Regions from separate parts of the Homo sapiens genome. Here regions 2, 3, 4 and 5 are each linked to region 1. The links are contacts of gene promoters, found by promoter capture Hi-C in blood cells and fetal thymus (Javierre and others, 2016). All regions are on one chromosome and are shown on one strand. The core of a region is centred on a gene start or on the middle of the fragment in contact, and the rest is flanking DNA. Distances in the headings are between cores, read along the strand shown. Region 1 holds the start of SSR3 (signal sequence receptor subunit 3). Region 2 overlaps LOC101928236 (a long non-coding RNA gene). Region 3 overlaps LINC00880 (long intergenic non-protein coding RNA 880). Region 4 overlaps LINC00880 (long intergenic non-protein coding RNA 880). Region 5 has its middle 14 kb from the start of LINC02029.

Region 1 (6,119 bases), core at 1,714-4,213:
AGCCAGGCGTGGTAGTAGTGCGTGCCTGTAGTCCCAGCTATTTGGGAGGCTGATGTGGGAGGATCACTTGAGCCCAGGAGGCAGAGGTTGCAGTAAGCCAAGATTGGGCCACTGCGCTCTAACTTGGGCAACAGAGTGAGAGTCTGTCTCAAAAAAAAAAAAAAAAGCCATGATGAGTTGTTATGAGAATGACATGATAAAAATGATGTCACATAAGGAGAAATACATACTCTTCATTGGATAAAACAAGGAAAATACCTGCACCTCATATGGATGCTATAAGGATTACATAGGGCAATGTGCTTCATACAGTGCATGGCAGGGCGGGCCCTAAACTTGTTTTAAAAGACCAGATGGAGGTTGTTACAGCAATACAAGTAAAAACAGCATCCAAACTAGAGTGAGAACTATGGATGAAAAGATAATGCACATACAAAGTATGTTCGTACTAAGTCTCAGTGAAATTCCAATTGCCTTTTAAGAAATTACTTTCAAAGCAATACAGCACCTAGATGACCCCATCAAGGAAGGAGGGAAATAATCCTGCTATCCCTACCCAAGTATCACAGTGTACATGAAAGCAACATCAAAGGGCGTCAATTAAACAATTTATACCACTTCCAATGAGACAATGAGGACCATGACGCTGAGAAATAATAAATGTTACCATCTTTCCTAAGTCTACGTGATCCTGCATTTTAACCTCTATGAAACTAGAATATTTAATTGCTTATAATTAAGGTATAAGTTTATTGTGGTGAGGCTTGAGTTTTCTTCTCTAAAAGCTGTATTTTACAGTATGTGTGATCTTAGACTATGTTAATCCTTTACATTTTATACACTTGTATGAAAACAAACGTAATTAGCATTGAAAATGACAGAGAGTTAAAAAAAAAAAAAAGCAATAAAATAAAAAGACCAGCCTGGTCAACATGGCCTGTCTCTACAAAAAAATTAGCTGGGCATGGTAGCCTGCACCTGTAGGCCCAGCTACTTGGGAGGCTGAGGTGGGAGGATCCCTTGAGCCTGGGAAGGTTGAGGCTGCAGTGAACCATAATCATGCCACTGCACTGCAGACTGGGCAAGAACTAGACCTTGTCTCAAAAAATAATAATGACAAAAAGATCATTTCTTTAACTTCCAAAAATAGTACGTGAAGAGCCCAGAACAATTCTCTCCATAAGGAATTACATTTAGCTTCTGAAATGTTAACTTACTTGGTGGGTTTGTTTCTCTGATGAACCTCATATTAAGGCCTGTGTTTAAGTGTTCTAATTCCACCCTCAAAATCTGCTTCTGTAGCCGTGTCAGAATGATCATTGTCTCTACTTCAGTTAGTTAATAATTCTTCCTAGCATCAATGTTCCTTTCCCCCAAAATGTTTATTAATATATATATCTCAAATTAATGCTTATTAAAACCAACACACACAAATGATCTTTAAGAAGACATATAAAAATATAACATGTAGTACGTACTTTCACTTGAAAAACATACTTACTTGTGCTTGAGAACAAATTTCACATTCTTGTATGCAAAGGCTACCAAATATGTGCTTACTAGGGTCATCACACTATACAAAACAGCAGACTGAATAAGATCCATATGCCATATTCGCCAGTATAACCCTGAATTAAAATAAAAGGGGGAAGGGTACAAAAAGAAGCAAAACATTACAACCCCGCAACAAAAGCCTGCGAAATTAATTATAGCTAAGCCTGGTAAAATACCAGGTTATTAGTTATGCAATCCAATAGTATCTGAGGATCTTCAGAAGCGAGATAACCAGTAACAGTATAGTCTCAAGCTTTCCAGTTCAGAACATTTGAAAAACATCACCTTCCTATTACTAGTCCAGATGAGATTTCAACTTCTAAAATGAGAACAAACTCTGGCTCAACGTAATCACAAGTCAGACTTCAAATTTCATTCATCAGGGTACTAGCATGCGAAACACAGGCCATTCCAAAATGCCACGTGCAGCCCCAAACCATAGTTTCCTTGCTGACGTGGCTGTTATCAGAACTCCAAGCAGTGCTATGTCCAATTAGTGAGCCATCATATGGCTTCACATCACGTTAATGGCACGCTGGGTTGTATAAGGACAAAAGAGAAAAATACATTTAGTTTTAAATGCCCAACAACAGTGCAGCAAAAGACAGGAGTTCTGGAAACTTGAGCTCTACTAAAAACGACCTTGTCCAAGTCTGCAGTTTCCCAACCAAGTGAGAATTCTAGAATTGGTCCAGTAGGATTATTAAAAAGTATAAATAAGGTAGATCCCTAACCCCTGGCACTTCAACCTCTCTCTTTTTGCAAAAACCAGGAAAATTATGCAATGGTGTGAAGTAGCTCACGTAAAGATGCACTTATAATTCAGTGGGTCACTTCATGGGTTTCTCACCTAACTAATTTATGCAAAATAAGTAATAAGTTTAAAATTTCGTAACGGCAAGCAACAGTTGTATAGAAAAGGGCAGAGGCAGTATGCTTGAGTTTGTCTGTTTAAATAGAGATTCGGGGCCGCCACCCCAGAACTAGTTAACCACCTTCTCCTGGGGTGGAGCTCGGGAACGTGCGTACTTTTAACAAGTGACCTCCCCGAGTGCTGCACAGGACAATCCCAAGCGACAACACTGTGCCCAAAGAAGAGGCTCCGTGCCTCCCCGAGCTCAGGGGAGCTGGAGAGATTGCCGACCCCCGGCCGGCACCCACGCCTTCCCTGCTCGCCGGGTCCTGCCACGTCCCCGCCCAGCCCGACTAGCCGGCGGCCTGCCTAACCCGCCTCGCTCCCAGCACTCACAGATGGGGATGGCAGACACGATGAACGCGTTTCCGAAGAAGAGCGCGGAGGACTTGGCCGAGAGATTGCGGCTGAAATCCTGCAGGAGCAGGTCCTCCTCAGACTGCTGTTTGGAGCTGCCTTTAGGAGCCATGGCGGAGCTGCAGGCGAGAACAGGGAACGTAGAGCCGGCCGCCAAGGCGGGCAAAGGCCCTTGACTCCGCCCCTGCGGCCGCCGTATCCGCTAACGACCCGTCAGCGCGGCGCGCGGAGGCGGGACCCGGTTTGGCGAAGAGCAAGCGTCCCCAGGATTGGCCAGCTTGGCGCCACTAGATAGGCTTCCGGGCGTGATTGGGCGAGCGGGCCAGACTTCCGGATTCCTGACAAGCCACGTGACCCACCCACCTGGAGGAGAGAGAAGGGATTTGTAGTTTAGTCGGTGCTTTAAAAAAAATTAACAAAACTTTATTGATATTCCACTTCAGAGCTGCTGACAGACTCACGAGTTCTCAGTTCTTCAGAATTCCAAAATTAAAAGCTCTTCTGGCCCCACGCCATTAGTGCCCTCTGTGCGTACCCAGGACTGAGTACGTTGAAGAAGAAAGAAGAGAAAGGTATAGCTAACTCATGTAAAATCCCTTCTCCTTTACACATCCTTTATTTCATTAAATACCTTGAAGAATCTTATGACGTGCGCATCATTACCGCCATTGCAGCTGAAGAGCCTGAGGGTCGTAGACCTGCGGTGTGGGTCTCCAAGGCGTGGGCTCTTTTCACTAAACAATAGGCCACCTCTGTAGGAAGAAGAAAATGGGACTCTTGCTTTTAAGAAACTCATGATCTCATTGATGAAGGCAATATTTAATATATGTCTGATACAAGTTACTACTATTTTATTTTATTTCAACTAGACCTATAGAGTTTTGTGGCTTCCAAAGCCATGCTAAATAAAACATAATACTAAGAACAGGTTGGCTAGGCAAGACTCCCTCTCTGAAGCTCAGAAGGATTAAGTATGTCTATTAAAACAGCTAGATTCCATTTTTAACTCAACACATTATCATTTTTTCTTCAAAAAAAAATTCAACCACATCACTCCCAGCAAATGCTACTTTTGATTACTGAGAACACTCTAGTGCATTAGGCACAATTTCCTCAACCTCCAGCCTCCTTATTAACCGTTTGGTAGATATCTTTCTTCCTCACAGTATCCAAATTGTAATCTACCTCCACAGCTTCCTATTACTAGTCCTAATTGGGCTTTTGTCTTCAATCTTTTCCAGTCTATTCTCTATACAGGTACCAGAGTGAGTTTTCCTGAAATATAAATCCTTCCATTATCTACCGCAAGTGTTCCTTAATGCCAGAAGTTTTCATTAATTCACCACAAAATGAAAAAGAAAAAAAGACCATCTAGTGAATTTTTCAGAAAATCAAAAGTATTCATTTAAAAATATCTGGGTTTATGTCTTTTTTGATGTTAAAAATGCTCTTTATTTTATTACATGGTAGTGATAGAAGAAGAAATTATTATTTTCTCTTACACATACTCCTCCCCCAGTTTTTCCTATCTCACTAAGTTGCATTCTTTTAAACTCATTTGTTGTTCTGGTTAAAATAGTGGGTTTCAACACTAATTATTTTTTTCCTTCTCCATCTATGACCAATTCATAAATAAAACTTTTTGGATCTGTCTCTATAACTAGATTTTCTTCTGCCTATTTATAAACAAACTAAGGATATAAAAAGAAGATAAAAGATAAAAATCAGAGGCTGGGTGCGGTGGCTTATGCCTGTAATCCCAGCACTTTGGGAGACCAAGGTGGGTGGATCACAAGGTCAAGAGACCGAGACCATCCTGGCCAACATGGTGAAACCTCGCTTTTACTAAAAATACAAAAATTAGCCAGGCATGGTGGCGCACGCCTGTAGTCCCCAGCTACTCAGGAGGCTGAGGCAGGAGAATCACTTAAACCCGGGAGGCAGAGGTTGCAGTGAGTCAAGATCGCGCCACTACACTCCAACTCCAGCCTGGCAACAGAGCAAGACTCCATCAAAAAAAAAAAAAAAAAAAAATCAGAAAACTAAAAGATCCAAAGAGACAACAATCATCTTTCTTTTAAAAGAAGAAAAGAAGAAATGATAAGGATGAGATTTAAAAAAATTATGCCTGAGAAAAATATTTTAACAATTAAAATAGGAAAGATAAAAGTTTGAAATGTTTAGTGGATATAAATGTTACAATTGATATAATCAAAAAAAGCTAGCAGAAAAAAATTAATACATTTTGTAAAGCTAAAGGTAACTATAAACAGAAGATAATCTAAAATATGAATTTCAAATTATTTTGTGGGGGTAAATTAGAGAAATATGATAGGGAATGATACTTATGATAGAATATTTTTGGTAATGGCAACAATTACAATTATGAAGGTGGCACACTTGGAGTACTGAAGCAGTGTTTTCTTGCACCAGAGCTACCTAGTTCCCTTTAAAAAGCAAGCAGCAAGACCTAAGGATCACTTGTATGTGGCATATATAGCCGTGGCACACATAGCCGTGGCACACTGGACAACCAGGGTACACAATGTGCTAAAAAACAGAAGGAGAGGTGGGTAGTAAATTCTACCCAAGCAAAGATCTACAATATATTTTGCCCATTTCAACATAGCTTAACTCTGAAGGAACCAAATGGACTTGATTCCATAGCAGTCTGAGTCTATTCTATGAATTTCAGGCTTTCTTGTATATTTTCTATTATATCACTTGATTCTTTTCAGATTGGAGGAAAAACCCCAAGCAATAATATTTTTTGCTGTCAGGTATATGGATAAGAGATTACTGATGACTTTGTGAAAGAAAATCTGGTATGCTAAAAATTAACATATTTTTCTGTGTCAGACACTGCAAGTTGCCTAGCCAATATAGAAAGCCACTGCTAGCTTTTCACTGGGACCTTTAAAGAATAACAAATGGATCATCCAGGGCTACTGTGGGGAGGAAAAAAGAAAAGCTCCTCTGTTTTAAAGCCTACTTGAAATGCAAATCTCATGATGGGAATAATTTTAAAAGAGGTGGAACACTTATATTAGTCCCTAAGTATAATGTTTTAAAGTATCACCTGAAAAATTATTTACTCAGCCAAACTACATATTTCACCCACTGATATTTGACTAATTCATTAGTTCATGTACTCATTCAGCAAATATTTATTGAGAAGCTACTACATGAAAAGTACTGTGCAAAACCTGTGAAAGTATCCAAATAATAATCATGATTATTTTGATTATAATAACTAACATGAATTGAGTCCTTGTTGTATGTCTACCTCTGTGCT
Region 2 (6,119 bases), core at 2,643-5,142, 660 kb after region 1:
AGCAGTTGGGAGATTTCTCAAAGAACTGAAAACAGAATTGCCATTTGACCCAGCTATGCCATTGCTGGGTATATATATACCTAAAGAAAAATAAATGGTCCTACCAAAATGACACCTGCATTCATATGTTTATCATAGCACTATTTACAATAGCAAAGACATGGAATCAATCCATGTGCTCATCAATGGCGGATTAAATTAAAAAATGGGTGCTGTGTGTCCAGGCTGTAAAAAAAAAAAATAAAGACAAAAATAAAAATTAAAAATTTGGTACATATACACCATGGAATACTATGCAGCCATTAAAAGAATGAAATCATGTCCTTTGCAGCAACATGGATGTAGCTGGAGGCCATTATTCTAAGAGAATTAACACAGGAACAGAAAACCAAATATTCTCACTTATAAGTGGAAGCTAAACACTGGGTACACAAGGACACAAAGATGGGAACAGTAAACACTGGGGATCCCAGAATGGGAGAGGAAAGAAGTGGGACAAGAGTTGAAAAGCTACCTATCAGGTACTATGTTCACCACGTCAGTGACAGGATCATTAGAAGTCCACACCTTAGCATCATGCAGTATTCCCATGTAACAAACCTGCACATGTACCCCCTGCATCTAAAATAATTTTTTTTTGAAAAGAGAAACTTTTGGAAGTCTTGGTTATATTCTCTGTCTTTACTGTGGTGGTGATTTCATGGGTATATACATATGTCAAAACTTTTCAAATAGCACATTTGAAATATATGCAGTTTATGGTATGTCAGTTATAATTCATAAATCTAGGGGTTTTATCCCCTGAAAGGAATAAACTTCTGATACATACAATAAGATGACTGCATCTCAAAATGCTAAATGAAAAAAGAGCAAGACACAAAAGGCTACAAATGATATGGTTCTACTTATATATTATTCTGGAAAAGCCAATGTTACACAACACTACAGAAATCAGATCAGTGGTTGCCTGGGGAGTGGTGGCAGGTGCTGACTGCAAAAGGGCACAGGGAATTTGAGGGGTGGGAGATGCAGAAATGTTCTATATTTTCATTGTGGTAATGGTTACACAACTACATACATTTGTCAAGACTCATTAAAACATGCGTGAAAAGGGATTTTACTGAATGTATATTATATCTCAATAACCCTGACAAAAGTAAAAAACAAACAGCCCAAATAGAGAGCCCCAAGAATGCCTTGGCTTTTGCTTTTGTGATGCGGAAGGATCCAGAAATTCTTACATTCTGCTGTGGGATTGAAACCAGAGGCCTCCAACCAGGGATCTGGGAGCAACATGTGGGTAAGACACCCTCTGCCCCGCAAGCTCCCGCAAGCTCCCTGGTGCAAGCCTGCCAGGGGCTGTTGGAGGAAGAGGTGGAAGTAGAGCCAGAGGATTTGCAGAGCCAGCCTGAATGAAGGCGGGGCCAGTTAACAGGGGCAAGGACCTGTGAGACCCTTGCTTTACCCAAAAAGCTGACCACAGATGTCACTGGCAGGGTGTTACCAGGGAATATGTCTGAAGAGGCCAGCCCTGGGGTCAACTGTCTCCCTCAGCTGCCCCCGGAGACATGTAATCTCTGTTCTACACTCAGGTCCCTATTTTGTGAAGGAGCAGGGAGGAATGGGAGAAACAAATCTCCGAGGGCATTTGAACTTTGAACTGACTGCATATTGATCTGAAAAAGACTGTTTAAAGCGAGGTAACTGATTGACTCTTTTTTTTTTTTTTTTTTAGACGGAATCTTTCTCTGTTCACCCAGGCTGGAGTACAGTGGCATGATCTCGGTTCACTGCAGCCTCCACCTCCCAAGTTTGAGTGATTCTCCTGCCTCAGCCTCCCAAGTAGCTGGGATTACAGGCCGAGTAGCTGGGATTACAGGCGTGCACTACCACGCCTGGCTAATTTTTTGTAGAGACGTGTTTTGCCTTGTCCCGGATGGTCTCGAACTCCTGGCTTCAAGTGATCCTCCGACCTCAGTCTCCCAAAGTGCTAGGATTACAGGCTTGAACCACCACACCTGGCCGTTGACTCTTTTTTTTGAGACGGAGTCTCACTTTGTCACCCAGGCTGGAGTGTGGTGGCATGATTTTGGCTAACTGCAACTTCTGCCTCCTGGGTTGAAGCGATTCTCCCGCCTCAGGCTTCCAAGTAGCTGGGATTACAGGAGTGGTCTTGAACTCTTGACCTCAGGTGATCCACCCTCCTTGACCTCCCAAAGTGCTGGGATTACAGGCATGAGCCATTGCCCCTGGCTGGCCACTGACACTTAACCAGCAAATTCATACCTTTCCTATCCCACTCCATCCTGCCACCTCTAAAAGTGGGAATGGAGCTTTTGAGGAAGTTTATATCATTTATAGAAAGGCACAATGCTGGCTGGGCGTGGTGGCTCATACCTGTAATCCCAGCACTTTGGGAGGCCAAGGCAGGCAGATCATGAGGTCACGAGTTTGAGACCAGCCTCACCAACATGGTGAAACTCTGTCTCTACCAAAAATGCAAAAATTAGCTGGGTGTGGTGGCATGCACCTGTAATCCCAGCTACTTGGGAGGCTGAGGTAGGAGAATCGCTTGAACTTGGGAGGCAGAGGTTGCAGTGAGCCGAGATCACTCCATTGCACTCCAGCTTGGGCAACAGAGCAAGACTCTGTATCAAAAAAAAAAAAAAAAAAAAAAAAAAAAAAAAAAAGGCACAATGCTGCCATCTTTTTGGTGCATATAAACTGCAGCATGTCATTAAACAAATCCTGCTATGAGTATTTTCAGGCGTCCTTCTCCCCACAGTGCCTGTGTGGGTAGAGGGTGAGACTTGGGTTGTGGGGAGGAGGCTACAAGAGAGAGAAAGAGAATTTGAGGGAGATGAAGAGGGAGAGAGGGATTGACTTGGAGAGGGGAATGAGAGGAGGAAACACAAGGAGGGACTCAGAGCCTACTAGAGTAAAGGAGTTTGCCGGGAGGACTGAGCTTTTGGGGAAAGGAGAGGAATTGGAGAGGATTCTAAGGAAGCCTTGCTCTGTGATGTGTCCTGTGATCCCCTGCTGATCTCATCGAGACACCTTCTGTGAAGAAATGTGTTCAATTCCACTCCCTGGAGTCTGCTCTCCTGTTTCCATTCTGAGGCTTCAGTGTGCTAGGATTGGCTTTGGGGCCCGGGCACCTTGGGGTCACGCACTTTTCATACAGCGGTCACCCAGGCGAGAGCTGAACAGATTCCCCTTATTGTGGAGACTGTCTTTTGTCTATGCCTTTATGTTGAAATATATGGCGTCCTATCCTGTTTTGTCCCATTGGAGAGCTGTCTGTCCCTGATCTGCATAACAGCCATATTAAATGGAAGTTTACTATGAAATCGGCTTCCAGGCTTTCTTAGGTGGAATAGCTGCAGTTTCTTTATTCTTTTGCACAAGTTGCTGTAGGCTTTCCTTCTTTGAGTTCTTTAATCATCTTTAAGCTTCCTGGGATTTGCCAGGTATGTTTTCAGCTAATTAGCCTAGAGTAGGATTAGCAAACATCCCAAACAGTGCTTGGCTCATGTGTTTATGAGTCATGCTGTATCTCTTTTAACTACTTTACATTTATTTCTTCAAACTATTTGTTTAATTAAATAAAATGTCAAATTTTAGTTATAATGGGCTCAATGATTTCACCTGTCTGCTAAGTTATTTGGGCTTCTTCAGACTTGGATCTCACTGCCTTTTGTAACAACATTGGCTTTCGTATGACATAGAGGACATTGGTATCATATATATATGTATATATATGTGTATATATATGTGTATGTATGTATATATATGTGTATATATGTATATATGTGTATATATGTATATATGTGTATATATGTATATATGTGTATATATGTATATATGTGTATATATGTGTGTGTATATATATATATATTTTTTTTTTCTTGAGACAGGATCTCACTCTGTTGCCCAGGATGGAGTGCAGTGGTGCAATCATAGCTCGCTGCAGTCTCGAACTCCTGGGTTCCAGAGATCCTCCCAAAGTACTGGGATGATAAACTTGAGCCATGGCATCTGGCCCTTATGATTTTTTTTTTTGATAGTCTATTTTCAAGGTAAAACACTTAGTGAATATTTAGAAGTTTAGATTGTTAAAAAAATTAGTGTGTGTTTACTTAAAACGAGAGAACTTTAAGTCTATCATAAATGTCTATTTTGGTTGATTATGGGTCTAGTGAGGCATAACACACAAAAATGTTGAACATTCCATTTAACCATGTGGGAAAACTGGGAATTCTGAAGGATTAAATTTTGGTAGAAGACAATGGGAAAATTCCATATAACTAAGAGGAGATGAGAAGAAGTATATAAGCTTATAATTTTCTGGAAAAAAAGTAAAAAGGACTTTTTTTTTTTTTTAAATTCTGGGTAGAAAGGTAGGGGAAACAGTTTCAGAATTTCTAAAATATATTGCTTTTATGCCTTGAATTTTATGGTCCACTTTAAGGCTTGAAAATAGTATTTACAAAAACTGATTTGATTATTTATACCAAGGGCATCTTTCATAATCAAAGGCTACCTGGAGATAAACTCTATGATATTTGACAATAGTATAAAACACTTCAATACTCATGATCTCAGGCACAACCTGTAGATGTATTTAAAGGGATTTCTTGATGCTATATTGATTTTTTTTGGACAAATAAAAGCTATTTTGACACATCAAGTACATTAATTTATTTTGACCAAAAGGATAGAAAGTAAAGCCATGCCTAAGAATGTGTTAGAAGTACAAAATATTATAAAAATTTGAGCTAATTATTTAGATAATTCAAATATTAAAGTTTGAATTATTCATTAGAGGTAAAGTGAATTTCTGTTGAATCCTTTATTGAATTGACTTTGTTCTCTTAATGGAGAATTAGCCTCAAAACTAGGAAGTGATAAGTAGCCGGGGGCGGTGGCTCACGCCTGTAATCCCAGCACTTTGGGAGGCCAAGGTGGGTGGATCACAAGGTCAGGAGTTCGAGACCAGCCTAGCCAATATGGTGAAACCCCGTCTCTACTAAAAATACAAAAATTAGCCGAGTGCCGTAGTGTGTGCCTGTAGTCTCAGCTACTCGGGAGGCTGAGGCAGAAGAATCGCTTGAACCTGGGAGTGGAGGTTGCAGTGAGCCGAGATCGTGCCACTGCACTCCAGCCTGGGCGACAGAGCAAGACTCCGTCTCAAAAAAAAAAAAACCTAGGAAGTGATAAGATTGGAAATAATGTGCTTGGTTTTTTTTTTTTTTTTTTTTTTTTTTGGGTTGGGTGTATCATTTTATTTATTTTTGTTTTTATTCTTATTTTTATTTTTATTCTTATTTTTTTTTGAGACAGAGTTTCTTTCTTGTTGCCCAGCTAGAGTGCAATGGCACAATCTCTGCTCACCGCAACCTCCACCTCCCAGGTTCAAGCGATTCTCCTGCCTCAGCCTCCCGAGTAGCTGGGATACAGACATATGCCACCACACCCAGCTAATTTTGTATTTTTAGTAGAGACGGGGTTTCTCCATGTTGGTCAGGCTGGTCTTGAACTCCCGACCTCAGGTGATCTGCCTGCCTCGGCCTCCCAACATGCTGGGATTACAGGCGTGAGCCACCATGCTCAGCAGTGTGCGTCATTTTAGTAGCAAATTATTTATTTGATGCTTAGGTACCTAGCCATTAGAAAATGTGTTCATTCCCGCTTTGTTTAGTTTAATATTTTGGACTTTTGCCTTATTTTCTTTCATTACTTCTTTTGTTTTCATCAGTTTTCTTGTTTAAAATGGAAACAGAATGCTCTAGAATAAGCTTAGTTCTCAAGTTTGTCCACTTATTTTCTGACTGTCAGTGATCTCATTAATCATAATATAATCCTTGGTAAGCGAGGACTAGAGATATGCATTGTGAAAGAAAACAAAAAGAGGAGGGCACAGAAGGAAGATGGGGTGGATTCAGTCTCCACTGCCACTGTGGTTATATCAGACTCAGAAAGTAAACATGCCTGTGCTCAGATCACGCACATCTAGTGGCATACATTTGTCAACACCCAACACCACAAAATCATTAAAAATCAAATCAAAAAGGATAAATTATCATTCTGAACAATATGACACAGGTACAGTTTAGTCC
Region 3 (6,119 bases), core at 976-3,475, 560 kb after region 1:
GTTAAATTAAAATGTTAAGATAACCATGCCTTATAATTTAATTTTGTTGTCTCTCAAAGCAGCATAACTATAGTGGTCTTTTGTGCCATTCATTTTCTGGGCTTTTCCATGCAAAAGTATGTTGCAGCTTTGTCCAGTGCCTTTTTCAAGCATCTTGTGACATTTCCATCCCCCTACCTAACAGGGTGGTCGGATTTCTTTGCTGTTAAGAGGATTACTGAGACGTTCCCCTTTATATAACTCAGAAGACTCCGTAAATAACAAGAAAGAGCAAACAAGAGATGTCAAGGAGAGAGGTTACAAGCAAGGGCTGCATTTCAGAGAAGCTGGCTAAGCAAAAAGAGGTCAAAGAACTTTCTTAATTGACACTGATAAAGCTGGGGATTGAGAAGCAGTGTCCTGGGCGCCATTTTCATGGGCAAGCAGAGGGGTTAGCTTACATTCATCCATCAAGTGTTAAGCTTTAAACCCAAGAACTTCGGGTGAGTCAGGGCCAATGACCGGTAAAGGAATGAGACACCTTATCTCTAATCAACCCTGCCTCAAAATAGCTCTCTTCCTTTGGGCAGAGACTCCCAGCACACTATAGTTCAGGGAAGTGCCTGAGCCACACTTAGTCAGAAAGTCAATGAGTACGCTTTGTGTACAAAGTTAAGTTAGACCTCTCTGCGTGGAGCAAGGCATAATTTAACAACCCTCACTATGGCTTGCATCAAATCAAGATGTTCCAGCCAGGAAGGAACTTACAGTTTACCTGGACCAGCTCCTCATTTTACAGATGAATAAACTGAGACCCAGGGAGATGGATGATTTGCAAAAGAACACCAAGGGAGTCAGTGGCTGGGCTGAGGGCTGAAACCCTGCGCTAGAGCAGACATTCTCTTTCTCTTGGCAATTCTGCTATACTCATCTGAAAAATGAATGAAACACTCATGCCCCTGGTCAATTTTCCTTCCGTTGTTAAGGAAATCATTGCCAATGCTCCAATAGTTTCTAAGTCAACACATTCACAGGCAGTTTTTGTTAAACCCTTTCATTGTGAGTCTCCCAAACTTCCTCTTCTATCTTCATACTTCAGAGAGCTTTACTTTTGAGGTTCACTGTGTGGGCTGCCACTGTTGTTCCTTTCTCCACTGCTGGGAGAATGTTACAAATGGGTAATTGAAGTACTTGGGGTGTTGCTCTTAGGATGGGGTCAGACAAAAATTGACACCAGCCTCATCAGCTGTTCACCCCTAACAAGGGTTGTGACTCACAGCTCAGGGACTGCTGTTTCAGAAATGATCTGTGACATGGCACAGCTCAAACATTCCTGCCTCGATGCTTCCTACACCGCCATTTGCATACTGTGTCCCCTTTGTGCGTCCGCCACACAGTATGGGCTCTGTCCAGAGCTATCAGAGGCACATGAGGTCTAAATAGGAGTGGGGGAAAGCCTGGAGCTTGCAAAAGACTGCTGAAAACTGGGCAAAATAATAAGGATTTAGGACATGGACAGACAAAGTTCTGGAATGTGCTGTTAGAAAAATGCCTGGCCCTATCTAACTTGAAGGAGTTTTGTGTCATGTTATTACTATCCAAGACTTTGTGTCAGAGACTGAAGAGAAATAAAGCACTAAGGGACAGGACATTCAATTTTGACACCCCTTCGTTTCTCCATGATTGTCATTTCTTAAATGTTCCACTTATTTCCTCCATGAGTCAACTGGGCTGGACTTATTGCAGCTCTCAGGTGGAAACTGGTCCTAGTTGTTCTTCATGCATGAGATTTATCTCTTCTAGCTAGACTCCAAGTTACTCTATAAAAGTCTCAGGGCTTTATAATTCCCGCAAGGTTTCCTACTGAGGGCTGGACATACAGGAGGTGCTTAATAAGTGTTAAATAACCATGTCCTGCTTGGTCAGCATCACAGTTTTAAACTCACTTCATGCTAAAGTCAGGTCATGCTATTCAGGTGCTCATTGCATTCATGAGAAGGCACAAGGGCAAAGAAGAATGATCGCCCGAGGTTTATACCCAGTGAATGACAGAGCCAAGCCTCAATCCCAGGTCTTCTGAAATCAAATCCAGTTCTCACTAACTCTTCTGTCTATCATAGGATGGATAAAGAAAATAGGCTAAAGGCATTTAGGTTAAAGCTGGTGAAAAGTGAAATCGTTCATTGCTGGGGGTGGAGGGTGGGGCAGGTCTTAAAATTTTTAAAGGACAATTTAACTGTTATATCCTCAGCTTACTACATAAGTTACACAAAGACTTCCATACATTTATGTAATTGTAACAGTGTTTAACTTTTTTCTTGCAAGAGTTCCATCATAATCAATTGGTTTAGCAGAATAAAAATTGGTTTCTTTTTAGCTGAAGAACTAAAAATAGGAGGCAAATTAATATTCAGCAAATGAGATGAATCTCTATGAGGTATGGCTTTATTGTTCTGATGAACACCAACTCAATGTGGTGTTCGAAATGTCTCAGTAACACCCATATTCATGTTCAAAGATGATGTCACCAAGGAACATCCACAGGCATTCACTGAGTGCACAGCACGGTTCTGGATGGCTTTCCAGAACCATCAGCTAGCTATAGGACCTTAGGTACATACTAAAGGACCCAACGTTTTTTTAACACCAACCATGTTCCAGAAACCTTGAAAAACACTTTGCATGTTATTACATTTAACCCTTGTGACAACTTTATGATTTAAAATGAGGACCCTTAGCAGAGAGTAGTCATTAATTTACTCAAAATGACATGGCCAATAAATGGCAAAGCTGGGAGCTGTATCAGATATTAGTGACTCCAAAGCCCATATTTTTCCCACTATACCAGAGCTTCTCAATCCTAATTCATATTAGTATCACCCAAGGAGCTTTCATATTGTAATGATGCCTGGGTCTCACCTCAGACCAATTACATCAGAATATCTGAGGATCTATCCTGGATGTTTTTTTCTGGATGTCTTTTCATCACCCTAAGTGATTATACTATGCAACCAGAGTTAACAACCACTGAACTGGGTGTGCTGAGACTCAGTGCCTTCAACTGTAAAGTAGATGGAGATCTCTACTTTCTACTTCTGTAGTCACCAGAAGGCTAATTACCCTGGGGCCAATAGCTGCCTGAGAAGCCCCAATCTGCACCTAGAGTAAGCAGTTGTCACCCATACTGTCAGATATTCTCCCAACTTTCTACTTAAGTGTGGGCTATGAGTACAGCTGTTTAAACTTCCAGGAATGGGACTCTAAGATATACAATTATTTCATATATTCATATATATGTGAACCCCAAATATCTGAGACAGATCTCAGTTAATTTAGAAAGTTTATTTTGCCAAGGTTGAGGATGCATGCCCATGACACAGCCTCAGGAGGTCCTGATGACATGTGTCCAAGTTGGTCAGAACACAGCTTGGTTTTATACATTTTAGGAAGACATGAGACGTCAATCAATATATATAAGCTGTACATTGGTTCTGTCTGGAAAGGCGGCACAACTTGAAGCTGGGAGGGAGCTTCCAGGTCACAGATACTTGAGAGACAAACGGTTCATTCTTGTGAGTTTCTGATTAGCCTTTCCAAAGGAGGCAATCAGATATGCATTTATCTCAGTGAGCAGAGGGGTGACTTTGAATAGAATGGGAAGCAGGTTTGCCCTAAGCAGTTCCCAGCTTGATTATTCCCTTAGTGATTTGGGGGCCCGAAGATTTATTTTCCTTTCATATATATATATATATATATATATATATATTTTTTTTTTTTTAAATCAGAACAAGGCCCTAAAACTCTAGAAAGATTCCCATGCCATTATTTTCTCTGTCTTTCTTTCCAGATATCAATCATAGCTATTTTGGTGAAATCCCTATTGCTCCAAACTATTTTAGTGCTGCCTCTCTGCCATCATGACAACAAAGGTCTTTTGAAAAATGTTCATAACCTTTGACCCAGAATTCTTTTAAGGAGGTAAACCAAAAGCAAGGAAAAAAAAGAACAAAAAAAGCTTTGGGAAGAAAGATGTTCACTGCAGTATTATTTATTATAGTGGAAAACTGGAGAAAACTCTTATGTGTAACAGTAGAAAAACAATTTAATAAAATATGAGGTAGCTTACTAAATGGAAAAATGCTTATTGCAAATGGTTTTTACATAGAGAGTTAACATGGAAAAATATTAATATTAATTCATGTTAAAATGCTGAATGAATGCAGGTACAAAATTACATAGTGATCTATGAGTTACATTACATAGTGTCATATCAACTATGTACGTCTTTTTATACACAGAAAAAAGAAGAAAAAATTATATTATTCCAAGGTTAAAATACCTAAAATTTAGAATATTTAGAATTGGGTTAAAGTACCTGAAATTGTTTCCACTATCAACCCAATTCTATATGTTTGAAGAACAGCATGTGAAGGTGGTTATGGAGCAGGCCCTGTCCAGAGAAATTTTATATCCGGCCCTGGGACCTCTAGGCCTGTATACACAGATAGAGGACTTATAAACAGCAGAGTTGAAACATGAGTGAATCTGAAAGAGCCAGTCCCTCAAGATGAATCCTGAGTGGCTACATAAATTTAATATAGAGCCAAACGGCCATTTACTGACTAGAGATTACACACTACTCTGAGTTCCTGGAAAACCCACAGTCGGCTTAACACTGGGGCTTTGACAGCTGACTGTTACCGCTCATGTGGCCTGAAGCAACGGAATAGGCTGTGCTCCCCATCAACCAATCAGGACTCAGCTGCATTGATCAATCAGAACCAAGCCAGTTTGAATTGTTCATTTGCATAAATGGACCTGATTGGGAACCCAGGTAGGAATTTTCTCTGTAAACGCCAAACTGTCTCTTTGTTCTCTTCATTTTACACTTAGGGCTATGTTTCCTCGTCTGTAAACTGTTCATTGTAATAAAGTCTGTTTCCTCTAAATTCCTTTTCAGAGAACTTTTGTTCACACATAAAACCACAGGTCACGTGATTTTTTTGTTTGTTTTTGGAATGGTATGCACAGATAAATTTAAAATTACAGTCAAGGGAGGGGTAGCTAAGACAGCCCAGTGACGATGATCAATTCTACGTCAGGAAGAAATCAAGAAGAAAATGGGGTTCACAAATGAGTTAGTAACAACCGAGATTTCCACTTTGAAAGTATCTTCACACCGTTATTTCACGGGATCCTCAAAACCCCCTGAGGTGGTAGGAAGGTGATTGTTGGTGTCAGTCCCATTTTGCAGAAGAGAAAAATGAGTGTCAGGCAGAGTGGCTCGCTCGGTGCCCTGGCGGCGGCAGCGCGCCAAGGCCCAAGGCCCCTCTGGTCTCTGGGCTTAGACCTACGGCAGGAGGCGGGGGAAGCCTGCAGCGCAGCTCAGCAGCAGGTGGCAAGCCCTCTACCCGCTGGGAACGTTCAGGGTTATCAGCCCGTGGGAAGCAAGGTAGGACCCGCAGCTTGCAAGAATCTGCAAGGTGGGAACGGCGTTCGGGATGTGTTTGGCCCCCCAAGGCCAAGGCACGAAGGGGTCCCAGGCGGGTCGCCAGCGGCGCGGCTTACAATGGCCGGTTCGACCCAGAACGGTCGCCGCCGCAAGGCGGGTGAACTTTCCCGCCCTATGCGCCTGTTTCCGCGGGCCAGGCCGTCCGCCCGCGCCGCGTGGCCTGCCTAGCTGCACCTTAGCCCCCATGCGCCGGGTAGGCCCGGGCCCCGCCGCCGCGCTCTGAGCCCGCGTGGGTCTCACAACCATGGCCCTCTTATCTGCTCCTGTGCTTCGGTGTTTGGTTTTCCCTGTTTGACAGACTGAACCTTGTACTTTCGCAAATAACAAGTGTTTGCTCAGCAATCCAAGCAGCACCGGCAAGATTGCAGGTGCTGCGGCGGGCATGAGAGGTCATGCATTCGGGATGCCAGGAGGTCCTGGAGTCAGGAGCCCTGCAGCCCCTTCAGGGATGCCAGTGGCTTGGGCTGAACCCCAGACTCTGCCCTCGAACTTGAAGGGAACTTGAAGCTTCTTTAGGCCAAGTTTTATTGAAGGGTGTCCTGGGACACAATTCAGTGACTAGTAAATTTTGGCCATCGGAAAGCTCTCTTTACCCTAAAGAAAGACGAATACACTTAATGACAATTAT
Region 4 (6,119 bases), core at 2,190-4,689, 550 kb after region 1:
AAGGTGAAGCATCATACTGGAGAAAGGAGTAGTTTTGAGTACACTGTGGTAACAGGGGCGGAACCCCATCCTTCACCCTACCCCATATCAGACCCATGTCTCATTCCTGGGCAGAGTTGTCACTAAAAGCTAAAGGGACTATTTGTTAGTGCTTCATAAGACACTGGAGTACAGGGTCACTGAGATGAAACTCCTATAAATGAACATAAGAGAGAAAAAGGCAACTTTTCCACCTGACAATCCACAGAGCAACTTTACCAGAGTGAGATGGCAGAGCAGAGTAAGGGACAGTGCCTGGGCATTGATTTGCTGATGAGCACATGTAAGACCTCCTACCCCAGGAACTCCCCAAAAGTGCAGGGTAGAAGGTGCTTTGCAGGGAGCTAGGTTCAAAGTGAGAAATGGTGGTAACAAACTAACATTTAGATTATTAGTCTTGATGTGACTTTATTTGTGCATGCGTAGTGTATCACACAGGGTTCTCTAGAGAAACAGAACCAATAGGACATATACAGATATGTAGAAGGGGATCTATTACGGGAATTGGCTCATGCAATTGGCTCGAGAAATTCCATGTTATGCAGTCTGCAAGCTGGAGAACCAGGACAGGTGGGGGTATAATTCAGTCTGATACTGAAAGCCCCAGAACCAGGGGAGCCGATGCTGTAACTCCCAGTCAGAGGCCCAAGGTCTGAGAACGCAGGTGACAGCTTATGTAGAGAATGCAGCTTATGTAAGTCCCAGAGTTGGAAGGCCCAAGAACCTTGAATTCTGGTGTTGGAAGCGAAAGAAGATAACGTCCTGGCTCCAGAAGGGAGAGCAAATTCACCTTTCCTCCACATTTTTGTGGAGGCTGAGGGCCAGTTGGATGCTGCCCACCTGCATTGGTGGGGGTGATCTATACTTAGTCCACTGATTCAAATGCTAATGTCTTCCAGAAACACCCTCACAGACAACCCAGAAATATTGTTTTATCATCTATCTGGATGCCCCTTAACCCAGTGTGGTCGACACAAAATTAACCATCACACCTGGTGGGGGAAACTTGGCTAATACCTACCTCATGGGAATCAAACAGGATGTTCCCAAGCATGAGCCTGGACATGGCAAATACACAGTAAATGGCAAATTCCCTCACAAACCATCCAGGGAACCCACTGGAACCATTGCAGAATGCTCAGAACATCTCCTGGTGTGTTTGGGGATTGGACAACATTCTTGTAGCAAATATCTTTAATCAAAAAGTAACTTAACACATATCTTTGAGCATGTATATGTTCCAGTAAAGTATACATGCTAAGAGGGGTTTGAAATTATCTTTTCTTCTCAGCACTTTACAGTTTACAAAATACTTCAATGTGAATTTTAGTCACGTTAGCTCTTGCAACAACTTAATAATGTAGGATCCCCACATATAAATCAGAAGATTGCATTTCAAAGAGGTGAAGTGACTTGTCCTTAATAACCCAGCTAATAAGGGGTGCAGCTGGACTCAAACCTGGTCTCTTTCCATTAAAGTCTGGTAGAAAACTAAGACCAAAACAAATACAATAATGACAGAAAAAAAAAAAAACCACAGCAAATACGAAAACCTGTGGTTCTGACTCAAAGTGCTGGAGACAAAGACAAATGTCTGTGGCTGGACATCCAGAAGGAGTCAGCTGGGACCTGAGCCGATCTAACTAGAAAATGAAAGGGTGCTGCTGAGGACAGGGAGGCAGGGATGGAGGAGGCAGGTTTCCAGTGGGACCTCACCTGGCACCCCTTGAGCTGGCACCCACCTTTTCACATTTCACAGAGCATTTCTACTGACCTTTCCAAAGGGCACTGCACCTCACTGCTCCCAAATCTCTGAAAGTCAAAACGGAGGCTTTGCTCCTGCATCACTGTCTGGACCATACAAATCACCTCTTGTGACTTTGGCAACTGCTGGTCTCAGGGTTTGTATCCTAGTCATTTCTACTTCTTGGAGAATCATTTATGACATTCTAAAAGTATAGAAAACCATCTACTGAAATGTGTCAACATTAAAACATTAGTTAGCTAGAAATGATGCTCATTTAAGTTACAGAAAAAAACAACAGACAGGAAAAGACATGAGCATTTATGGGCCAGCCTCTGTACTAGCATCTCTCACACTCATGATCTCTTGTTATATTCACTGCAATACAATTTGGGAAATGGTATCATTCCCACTTTGACAGCTGAGGAAATGGACACTCAGAGAGGCTAAGTAACGGCTAAAGTCACACAATTAATAAGCAGCAAATCTAGGATGTGAATCCACGTCTGACTTCAGGGTATTTTGCAATATACCACAGTTTATGGCCTGTGGAATTCAAATGGAATTAAGAGATGACCAGTAAACATAGTTTCATTGCCAGTAAAATTCTTGACTTTGCTTTTTTATTAATTCATATTTACTAACAATGCAATTTCCAAATTACCAGCTTCGGAAGAGTTCTTAAATCATTGAAGTACTCAGGATTCATGGAGTCCTAACAATTAGGATTTGACACTGAGAGAGATGCCACCAGAGGACCCACGTGGAGCTGAGTGACTCTAATGTGAACTTTCTTTTTTGACAGTTCTCTGTAAAAATGTGGCCTATCTTGCACTGGATGGAAGACAAGGAAGAGATTCTCAGTCAAACCTGCCTGGTTTCCTCAAACTCTGTTTAATACAAATGCCAAAGTTTGACACATTCTAACCACTTTGCTTTCTTTGGCAACTCCAACTTTGACAAGAGAGTAAGAATGTCTCCTCCTTGACAGGAACAACGTGTGAAATGAAAGACCTCAGGTGCTGTATTGGCTCTTGACAGCTCTTCAGAAGAAAATACCTCCTGCCTGTTCTGTTCAGTCCTGGTGCAGGTGAGTCACTGCCTTGCCAGCCAGGCAAGTATTTTAAGAAACAAAATCTAAGCCAGAACCAGCAGAGAAATACGAGGGATGGATTAGCGCCATTAGCTTTGATGGTGTCTTGTTGTCATGGTGCTAGGAAAATCACTATCATTTACAGTCCCACTCACCAGCTGTTTTGCTAGAATTTTTGACATGAGAGGCTGGTGGCCACCCTAACACAGGCGTGGGACATGGGTGTGCACACACACGTACACCTGCAGCAGACACCCACTCTAGAGGGCTCACGTTGGTTGTCTGGGACGTGATTCAAAGGCTGTACCCATGTGTATGACAATCCTGTTTCCCGTACATCAGCTTCCAGGAAGCCAAATGACCCACCGGCTTACCCACATCGCAGGAAGCTTTGGAGCAGAGTCAGTGACTATGTGAACCTGCCTCAACCTCTGCTCCCTGGTTCAGCATTTGGCTTGGGAAAAATGACACTATTTCCTGTCTCTTAAACATTATTTCAAGGCACAGGTCTTCCACCATTCTGAGAGGCAGGGGGATCTTTGAGTTCTGCCAGGAGCTGGGGGTTAGGGGTAGGGGAATCCCGCCCAAGGGAAATGACTAGAATCTTTGTCAGGCTGTGGAACACAGGCATTTCTGGATAGGTGGCCTCCCCTGTGGCCTCTCCTGGCATCTACACTGCAAAGTCCCCTGTATCTACTGAAAGGGGTGAGGGTGGGGGCATTCATTGGTACTGGGAGGCAAGCTTTGAGTGGAAAGGAGCTTCTCTCGTGGCCCTCCAGTGAGCCACACTAGAGGAGGCCTCAGATGCATGGTGCTCCCTGCTCAGACTCACACTTGCCTGACTCCCTCCTTCGTGCTCTTCCTTCGGCTGCCCTTACCTGGGGGACTACAGTGGCTGTGGGGGTGCAGCGGGGGTTGGGGGGGGCGGCATACCTCACTACCTGGCTTTTCCCAAGTCCCTTTAATTAAGCCAAATCTTTGTATGAATGTAAAATACAAGTAGGCTTTATCCCTGGGCCCTGTGCTCCTCTGCCCCAGATTCTGACTCAAGGGCTTGGAGCAGACTTATTTTTACTAAAAGCCCAAGTGATTCGATTGCAGGTGGTCCTGGACAACACTTTGAAAAATGCTGGGGCAGAAACAAGCCAGCAAGCATATGGGATTCATCTGCTGTGAGTGATAATTTATCTAGTTTCTAAAAATAGTGTTATAGGCTGGACTGTGTCCCCTTCCTGTGCCCCGCCGCCATGCATATATGGACGCCTAGTACCTCAGAATGTGACTGTATTTGGAAACAGGGCCTTTGAAGAAGTAATTAAGTTAAAATGAGGTCATTAGGGTGGGCAGTAATACAGTATAACTGGTGTCCTTATAAGAAGAGATTAGGACACAGATGCACACAGAGGGAAGACCATATGAACACAGAGGGAGAAGACAGCCACCTGCAAGCCACAGAGAGAGCCCTTCAAAGAAACCAACCCTGCAGACAATTTGATCTCAGGTTTCTGGCCTCCAGAATTGTGAGAAAATAAATTTCTGTTGTTTAAGTCACCCAGTCTGTGGTATTTTGTTATGGCGGCGAAGCTAACGAACACAAACAGAAGGCTGATTTCACTTAATAATCATCTCAGAAGGCAGAGATTGCTTCAAACTATTGCATAAACAAGGCTGGTTTGTGAACCAAAGGACATGAGCCCCAAACCTGGAGTCGCAGAGGCAGCATGACAGCACAGACAGCACAGCTTCTGGTGTCAGGCATTCCTGCACTCAAAGTCTCAAAGAACCTTCCTCCCTAGCCTTCCACCTGAGTTACTTTAGACAAGGCAGCTGTTATTTTATTTAACAAATATATGTATACAGTGCTTACTATGTGCCAGATAATAGTCTATGCACTGTACAAATACTAAGTAATCTAATCCTCATTATAACCCTGTGATAGATACACTGAAGAGCCACAGTCCCTTATTCAAACCCTTGTTTGGAACCAGCAGTGCTTGGCATGTCAGAACTTGGGGATTTGAGAAAGATATACAGTATATGTACCATAGGCTTTATAACACCTCATGGCATCTGCAACAGCATCCTGTTATGAAACATACTAATGGTTCTAGTTTCTGTAGTGACACATATATATGTTGCATAAGTAAAGACTGTAAGTATCCTTGCGTCAACTCAAGATACAAGGATACTTTTAGTCAATGTGCTTGTTTCAGGTCAGGTTTTGCTGCCAAATGAATTATAAATCCATTTTTTCATATTTTGGAGCTTTTAACGTTTCAAAATTGTGGGCCTGTGTTATCCCCATCTTACAGATGAAGAAACTGAGGCACAAGGAGGTTAAACAACTTACCCACATTCATTAGCTCATGGGAGGTGGGACTGGGCCACCAACCCCCCGGGTTTTGCAGCCTTGCCGTGAGGACCCAATACAAGGTAGACTTCTGGGTTGAATTTTGTCCTCCAGAATTCATATGTTGAGGTCTTAACCTTAGTACCTCAGAATAGAACCTTATATGGAAATAGAGTCATTTGAAATATAATTAGTTAAGATGAAGTCATTAGGGTGGACCCTAATCCCAAGTGACTGGTGTCCTTATAACAAGGAGAAATTTGGGCGCAGAGGCAGGCATGCACACAGGGAGAGCACCATGTGAAGATGAAGGCGGAGCTCAGGGTGACACTTCTACAAGCTCAACAATACCAAAGGTTGTTAGCAAACTGCTAGAAGCTGGGAGGGAGGGGCATGGAACAGATCCTTCCCTGCCAGCCCTCAGAAGGAGCCAACCCTGCCGACACCTTGATCTTGAATATGTGAGACAATACATTTCTGTTGTTTAAGCCACACAGTTTGCAGTGCTTTGTTACAGCAGCCCTGGCAAACCATTACATGATCCTTACCCAGTGCTGGATTCTGAGTGGGAGATCAATAAGTGGTAGCTAGTCATACTTACTATCAGTATGACTGAGGCCTCAGACTGTTCATTGAAACATAAAGTCAGTAAATTATTTCTAAGACCTCTTTCAAGTTCTGGGTCTAATTTTTTATGTTTATAACATGAAGATAATTCAACTTCACTTGTACCCCCAATGGCCTGGCTCTTATAGCATTTCTTTGCTGTTTTAAAAATGGGAGCCAACCCAAATGTCCATCAATGATAGAGTGTATAAAGAAAATGTGGCCCATATACACCATGGAATACTATACAGCCATAAAAAAGAATGAGTTCATGTTCTTTGCAGGGA
Region 5 (6,119 bases), core at 1,532-4,031, 510 kb after region 1:
TCATTTCCATTTTTTCTCATTTTCTAGGGCTTTGTTTGCCTAGTCTGCTTCGGGTAACGATGTGCTAGGCATGGCCCCAGGAGGCTCCAGCAGACTTTGTTAACTGGCAAGAGGCTGCTTTTGTGCATCACAGCAGGAAGAAAGTCTACATGTGAAAAGCTTCCTGCTTGGAACATGGGGGTCAAGAGGACTTGCTCCTAAGGAGGAGAATATCTGTCCTGGGCAGGCTCTGTTCTCCCCCACAGGGCTTCTCTGGGTGGGCCCCTCAGCCCCATCTGCAGAGCGGAGGCTGAAGGACCAAGAGCAGGTCATGTGGGTCTGAGGGCACCTGGGATGAACTGTCACCCTGAGAACTATCTGTTGAACGCAGCCTTCTCTTCGGTGACACTTAGTCCCAATCTAAGGGTCTCTGGCATGGAGCGTGTCAACTCAGCATGCAAGCTCTGCTGCACCGGCCATCCCTCTTCCACAGATGCTCTTGCCTGCCTTTCCCTGTACTCAATCCCACCCTCGCTCTGTGTCCATCCCTAAACCCACTGTAGCTGGAAGTCCATTTCTCTCCTTCTATGGGGCACTTACATTCTTCTGACCTTTCACCTGTGTTGCCTACACTTAGCTTTTCCTTTTAACTTTTAATCTGTTTTGGGCTCATATCTAAAGTCTATCATATGCTCCAGAAGGCCAGGGTCATTTTTTTTTCTATTCTCTGTGTGTCCTGCACAGTCCCTAACACATAATAAGTGCTCCTCTGTGTCCCTTTTTCCTCAAAAAGCTTGCTGATAATAGCTCAATTACAGGACACATACATCACCTTCACACATTACCTAGAACAGTGGCCCTTAACCTCTTAAGAGTGACTATATTCTTAAGAATATAGTGAAAGCGACAAACCCCTCCTCAAAAAGATGCACATGGACATATATGGAAAAATTGCTTCATGCAAATTTCAGGATTTTACAGCCCCTCTGCAACCTGTTCAGCCATTGACTCTAAGCTAAGAAACACTGTTTAAACCGGTTCTTTTAACTGCACTGCGAGGTGGCTGCACAGACATTGTGGCCTGTGTTTAACAGGTGGGAAAAACTGAGGGTTGGAGATGGGGAGAGACTCCTCCAGACTGCTCTATATGGTTGATTGGTGTGGCTCCTTGCCCAGTGCCCACATCTCCTTTGATATCTATTTTGCAGATTTGCCCTGAGAAGTGCAAAATCAACACAGAAATATCTCTTCCATCAGTACCTGTGCATCAGGGCAGAAACTGTAATTCTTGTCATTCTTGCCCTTGCTATGATGTTTGGCATCTGATGAAACAGTGCCTCACAAAGTCCAGCTGCAATTCTTGCCAGGGCTGAAGCGAGTTCCTCTCCTGGTGTCAGAGGACAGCTTGCTTATTGTTGTAAATTTTTTATTTTCTCATCAGAGGCTCCCAGCTGTCTCTCCAAATCTGAATACAAGAAGTCAAATGTGAGAGCAGCCAGGTGGAGTTATTAGCATTGCGGCAGACCTTCTCATCTCAGCAGCTGCATCAGTTATTCTCGTGTGTTGGCTTGAGATGCCCTGCACCAAACCATGGGCCCTTTACTCAATCGACCCCATGATTCGGAAGGCCCCGGCATCTCGGCAGGCAAATGACGTGATGAGGAAGGAGTCATGGAAGGGCATTGAGCCAGCACCTTACACAGCAGCTTCAGTTTCCACTGTCAGTGCGTGATATGTGAATGAAAATCCCTGCGTAGTCATTAATGCATAATGCCTCAGTCACTGCCTCAAAAATCAATCTTTTACTGCCTCAACGAGGAAAAAAAACAATCCCACTGCTCTCCCAGGCCCTGTAGTGTGAGTCTATCATGGCCACTTGGGCATCACTTGGGCTCAGCTCCCTGACATGACAGAGTGTAATAGCTTCATAAAAAAGCAAGAGTGGTGGTTTTTTCAAACACCATTTGCTGTGTTTGAACAAATGTGCTTCATCACAGCTCCGCCTGCCTGTGGGCTGCTCTGTAGCTGACAGATAGCCCCAGCCTAAGGAAGCTAAGGTAAAGATACATGAAGTTCACCTTCCTGCACACTCAAAATATTCAAATCTTCTCTAACCACAGCCACAGGGCTCGTGCCAAATAGGTGTGCCCCTTCCTTGAATTTGTATGTGTGAATATTTCAAGCAGTGATGGCCCTGTATACCTTCTAAGGAAAAATATGTCTCTCAAATCAGCTGTTGTTGTTACTTTTTGCCCTTGTGGTTTCCCGGCATGACCCCAGGCACCTGTTAGTAGCTGTTGTGCTCCAAGACCACAACCTCCTAAACAAAGGTATTTATATTTCAAAGGGGATGAGGCCTTATTCAGTTCCTTCCTTCCCCACCTCCTTTAAGAAAATTCCAGCATTTGGGCTGGGCGTGGTAGCTCACTCCGGTAGTCCCAGCACTTTGGGAGGCCGAGATGGGTGGATCTCTTGAGGACAGGAGTTCGAGACCAGCCTGGCCAACATGATGAAACCCCATCTCTACTAAAAACACAAAAATTAACTGGGCATGATGGTACATGCCTGTAGTCCTAGCTACTCAAGAGGCTGAGGCAGGAGAATTGCTTGAACCCAGGAGGCAGAGGTTGTAGTGAGCCAAGATCTTGCCATGCACTCCAGCCTGGGAGACAGAGTGAGACTCCATCTCAAAAAAGAAAAAAAGAAAAGAAAATTCCAGTGTTTGACTAGCGTGCACTGTGATAGCCTGTCAGGGAGAAATATTTGGCCAGAGGTGTAAGTGGCTGCTGTGCACTGTTGTGTTAAAATGACGGTGACTCTAGGAGTCAGGACACTGTGTAGGACATCACTGAGCATCATGTCTGGTACTTTCTCTCAGCCTCCTTTGGGAATCACCTGCATCAGTGGTTCTCAACCAGGGGTAGTTCAGGAGACATTGTCAATGACTGGGGATACTGCCAGTGTTTTTGATATCATAACTTGGGAGGAAGAGGAGGAGGAGGAGTGCTACTGGCATCCATTGGGGAGAGGCCAAGGATGCTGCTCAACATCCAGCAGGGCACAGGACAGCCCCCCACAACCAAGAATTATCCAGCCCAAATGTCAATGGTGCCAACGTTCAGAATCACTGGCTACATTGACTAAGTCACTGCCACTTTCGCACTACAGTCTGTTCCAATAATCTGTGGTAGAGATACACATCTGGATAGGAAAATTGTCATCCTTCTTCAATTCATTTAAATTTCATAAAAATGTATTGGATGTCTAACCTGTGTAAGGGCCATGGGAATGATGACAGAGAGCGTCTCGGCCTTCCAGAAACTTAAGTCCAGTGACAGAGACAGACAAGTGCGTACCAACCATGCAATGCCATATCAGGAGCGGGTGGCGAGTGCTGTCACAGCATACAAGGGGCTGGGAACCTGAGAAGCAGAGATGACCTCCAGCCGGCCCAGAGGGCAGGCAGGCTATGCAAAGTTTTCAGAAAAAAATAGATGTGAGCTGTGGGGGCTGCAGGGATGAGGAAACCTCACACAGGTGAAGCAGGACGGGGAGCTCTGAAGACTCAGGGAAGAATGTGAGCAAAGGCAGAGATGCTGCCTGGTGGGATGGTGGGAAAGGAAGTAAGGGGCTGACTTCTGTGGCTTGCCCTAGGCCGCCTGGTGCACTAGGGTGGAGGAGGCTGACTTTCTTCCTTTTGTTACATTTACTATTTTGGAATAGTGGGCCACATATTTACATTTCAGACTTTTATAGTCTCTTCCTTTGTTTGCTACGGTCACATTAATATTCAGTAGAGAATCTTGCCATTTTTATGCAGTATTTAGTGGAGAAGAGACTTTTCACCTAAAAGTAAATTACAAGTTTCTCCTGCAGAGAGTGGTAGCTCATGCCTGTAATCCCAACACTTTGGGAGGCTGAGGTGAGAGGACTGTTTGAGACCAGGGATTTGGGACCACTGGCAATATAGTGAGACCCCATCTCCACAAAAAATAAAACAATTAGCCTGGTGTGGTGGCGCACGCCTGTTGTCTCAGCTACTCCGGAGGCTAAGGTGGGAGAATCGCCTGAGGTGGGAGCATTGCCTGAGCCCAGGAGGTCGAGGGTGCAGTGAGCCATGATTGTGCCACTGCACTCCAGTCTGGGTGACAGAGCAAGACCCTGTTTCAAAAAAAAAGATTTCTCCTGAGGCCAGAACTAAATAAGCTGCTGTATTTGGTTCAGTCGTTAGTAATTCACATGAATCACAATTTGGTTTTAGAAAAACTCATTTTTAGTGCATATATTTGAAAATATCTCAGAATCATGGATTCCAGAGACGGAAGAGATCTTGAGAAATGCTCAGGTTCAGTTTTGTCTGGTCCAACCAGATAAGCTATTTTCGTCATCATTTCACAGATGAGACAATTAAACATCTGCACATTTTAGACAGAAAATAAGCCTACGTTAAGTGGCAGGATTTTTAAACCTGATGCATTTGCTAAGTGGTGCAGTACTCGAGATTTGGAGGTGAGAGAGTAACTATTGTCCAGACTCAATTGCCCAGAGATCAAGGAGGTAGACTTGGGGGTAGAGGGATACAGGCTTAAAGGGCAGTAGGAAGCCACCCAAGCTCAAGATTTATTGGAGGGCAGATTCTCATCTCTATACTGATTGAGTGACCCCAGCCAGTGAGATCTCCTGGAAGCAGATGTGGGGAACAGTTGTGATTGTTGTAAGTCAGAGGACAAAGTTCATCTGGAGAGAGCATCTGTCCAGGGAATCTCTGGAGACTGGAGCCACTGTAGGAAATTCGGGATTTCAACAGAGAAAAAGCTTCCCTTGGGTGTGGGCAGGCAGGGGATATCCCTGGGGATCTTGACCGTAAGTGACCACCAAGATGTGCTCCAACCCAGACTTCCCTGACTCTGGGCAGCCTGTGGACTCTCCTACCCTGGCTCAGAATCTCCGCCTTGGTTACAGTTCGAACTGAGATGACCTCTTGTTTCCCATCAAAAATGCACCCTTTTCCTCTCAACATCCCCAGTATGGGGCTCACTGCCACATCATTTGCCCCACTCCAGGGCAGGGCCCACCCGGGAAAAAGCCCTGGTTTTCTTTCTGAAGACCACCCTAGTTTATAATAGCAAATAAATATGGATTATTTTTCTCAGTACAAGTTCCTGGGTATGGGACTCAGAGAGTTGCTTTTGTCAGCTCATGAGATGGAGAAGGAAACAGTGTGGGGAAATCCCAAACCCTTGGCTACCCCATTTCCTAAAGTGAACTTTACCCCTGGCATCATTAAGTGACTTTAACAGCCTTGTACTTGCAAAGTGAACTAAAAAGGCAAATGTATAAAAATCAGGTCCTTTTGGGGGGATCACAGAAATGCTTTATGAGATCCTTTTACAGCTGCCAGTAATCATTTACTCACGTTTTGCTCAACACAGGGGAGGTCCTCTTCTGCTCAAAAGAAAGGCAACTTCCTATAAAACAGACTTGCGTAGAATCCTTGGCAGGGAGAAGAAAGCAGTGAGATCACTTCTAGGCATGGCTTCTGGGGACTGCTGATTTCCTTGACGATAATGCCAGTCAGGCCCATAGCAGTGCCTGGCAGCTGCTTCCCTCCCACACCAAAGAAGCCCAGGCCTCCTTAGGTTTACAGGCCCCTGGCCATGGGCTCTCTGTAGGAAGTTGGTTGTGTATTTGTTCTGGAAGTGAGCCCTTGGGGCCAATGCACCAGGCTATCACTGGTAATGTCTTCTTTGGAGCAAATTCAGGTAAACGACTCTGCTACATGTGGCCTTGTTAAAACAGACAGTTCTGCTCAGCACATTTCCCTGGACATTCTAACACTCGTCGTTACACAGGAGTGAGTAACCAAAGGCAAAAGGCATCCATGTTAGCACTTAAGGTCTGTTTCCACTTTGGGTTCCAGTCCCATGGCCTGTGTCCTTTTCCTCAGAAACTGTGGTCTCACGGGGTACCCTCTTCCTCAAGCTGATCCTGGCAAACAGATGTGGTGCCAACTCTGACCATTGCTCCTTGGAGTTGGAGGTACAGATTACTTGTCAGAATCTTGTGATGTCCTGAGTGGTCTGGGATGCCCCTGCTCAGAACTACCATTTCCTGAATGTTGACTCTTGCAAGGTGTTTAC

What was found. Contacts are between HindIII fragments. The CHiCAGO score rates a contact against its expected background, and 5 or more counts as called.
Region 2: a contact is called between a fragment that was not itself captured here and the fragment with the promoter of SSR3 in region 1, in 3 of 17 cell types (activated CD4 T cells, non-activated CD4 T cells and naive CD4 T cells). The highest score is 8.0, in activated CD4 T cells.
Region 3: a fragment that was not itself captured here is called in contact with the fragment with the promoter of SSR3 in region 1 in 15 of 17 cell types (naive CD4 T cells, fetal thymus, total CD8 T cells and 12 more); the score reaches 14.8 in naive CD4 T cells.
Region 4: a contact is called between a fragment that was not itself captured here and the fragment with the promoter of SSR3 in region 1, in 10 of 17 cell types (non-activated CD4 T cells, total CD8 T cells, total CD4 T cells and 7 more). The highest score is 9.5, in non-activated CD4 T cells.
Region 5: a contact is called between a fragment that was not itself captured here and the fragment with the promoter of SSR3 in region 1, in 14 of 17 cell types (total B cells, non-activated CD4 T cells, total CD8 T cells and 11 more). The highest score is 15.6, in total B cells.

Annotation. Positions count from the first base shown.
Region 1 is chr3:156,552,154-156,558,272 of GRCh38, forward strand. It overlaps SSR3 (signal sequence receptor subunit 3), which reads right to left and starts at 2,964. Exons shown (of 5, transcript NM_007107.5): 1 at 2,804-2,964; 2 at 1,502-1,628. The coding sequence starts at 2,936. RefSeq lists an enhancer at 2,823-2,902. The HindIII fragment of the contact is 5,682 bases long and covers 1,806-6,119 here.
Region 2 is chr3:157,207,381-157,213,499 of GRCh38, forward strand. The region is part of intron 2 of LOC101928236 (a long non-coding RNA gene); the gene reads left to right. Among named protein-coding and RNA genes, the nearest start is that of CCNL1, 50 kb to the left of the region's middle. The HindIII fragment of the contact is 884 bases long and covers 3,451-4,334 here.
Region 3 is chr3:157,114,916-157,121,034 of GRCh38, forward strand. The region is part of intron 1 of LINC00880 (long intergenic non-protein coding RNA 880); the gene reads right to left. Among named protein-coding and RNA genes, the nearest start is that of LINC00880, 5.0 kb to the right of the region's middle. The HindIII fragment of the contact is 3,533 bases long and covers 460-3,992 here.
Region 4 is chr3:157,096,709-157,102,827 of GRCh38, forward strand. It overlaps LINC00880 (long intergenic non-protein coding RNA 880), which reads right to left. Exons shown (of 4, transcript NR_034007.1): 3 at 5,227-5,384. It overlaps LINC00881 (long intergenic non-protein coding RNA 881), which reads left to right. Exons shown (of 3, transcript NR_034008.1): 2 at 2,775-2,873; 3 at 3,978-4,427. Among named protein-coding and RNA genes, the nearest start is that of LINC00881, 9.9 kb to the left of the region's middle. The HindIII fragment of the contact is 353 bases long and covers 3,264-3,616 here.
Region 5 is chr3:157,065,199-157,071,317 of GRCh38, forward strand. No RefSeq gene overlaps it. Among named protein-coding and RNA genes, the nearest start is that of LINC02029, 14 kb to the right of the region's middle. The HindIII fragment of the contact is 4,022 bases long and covers 771-4,792 here.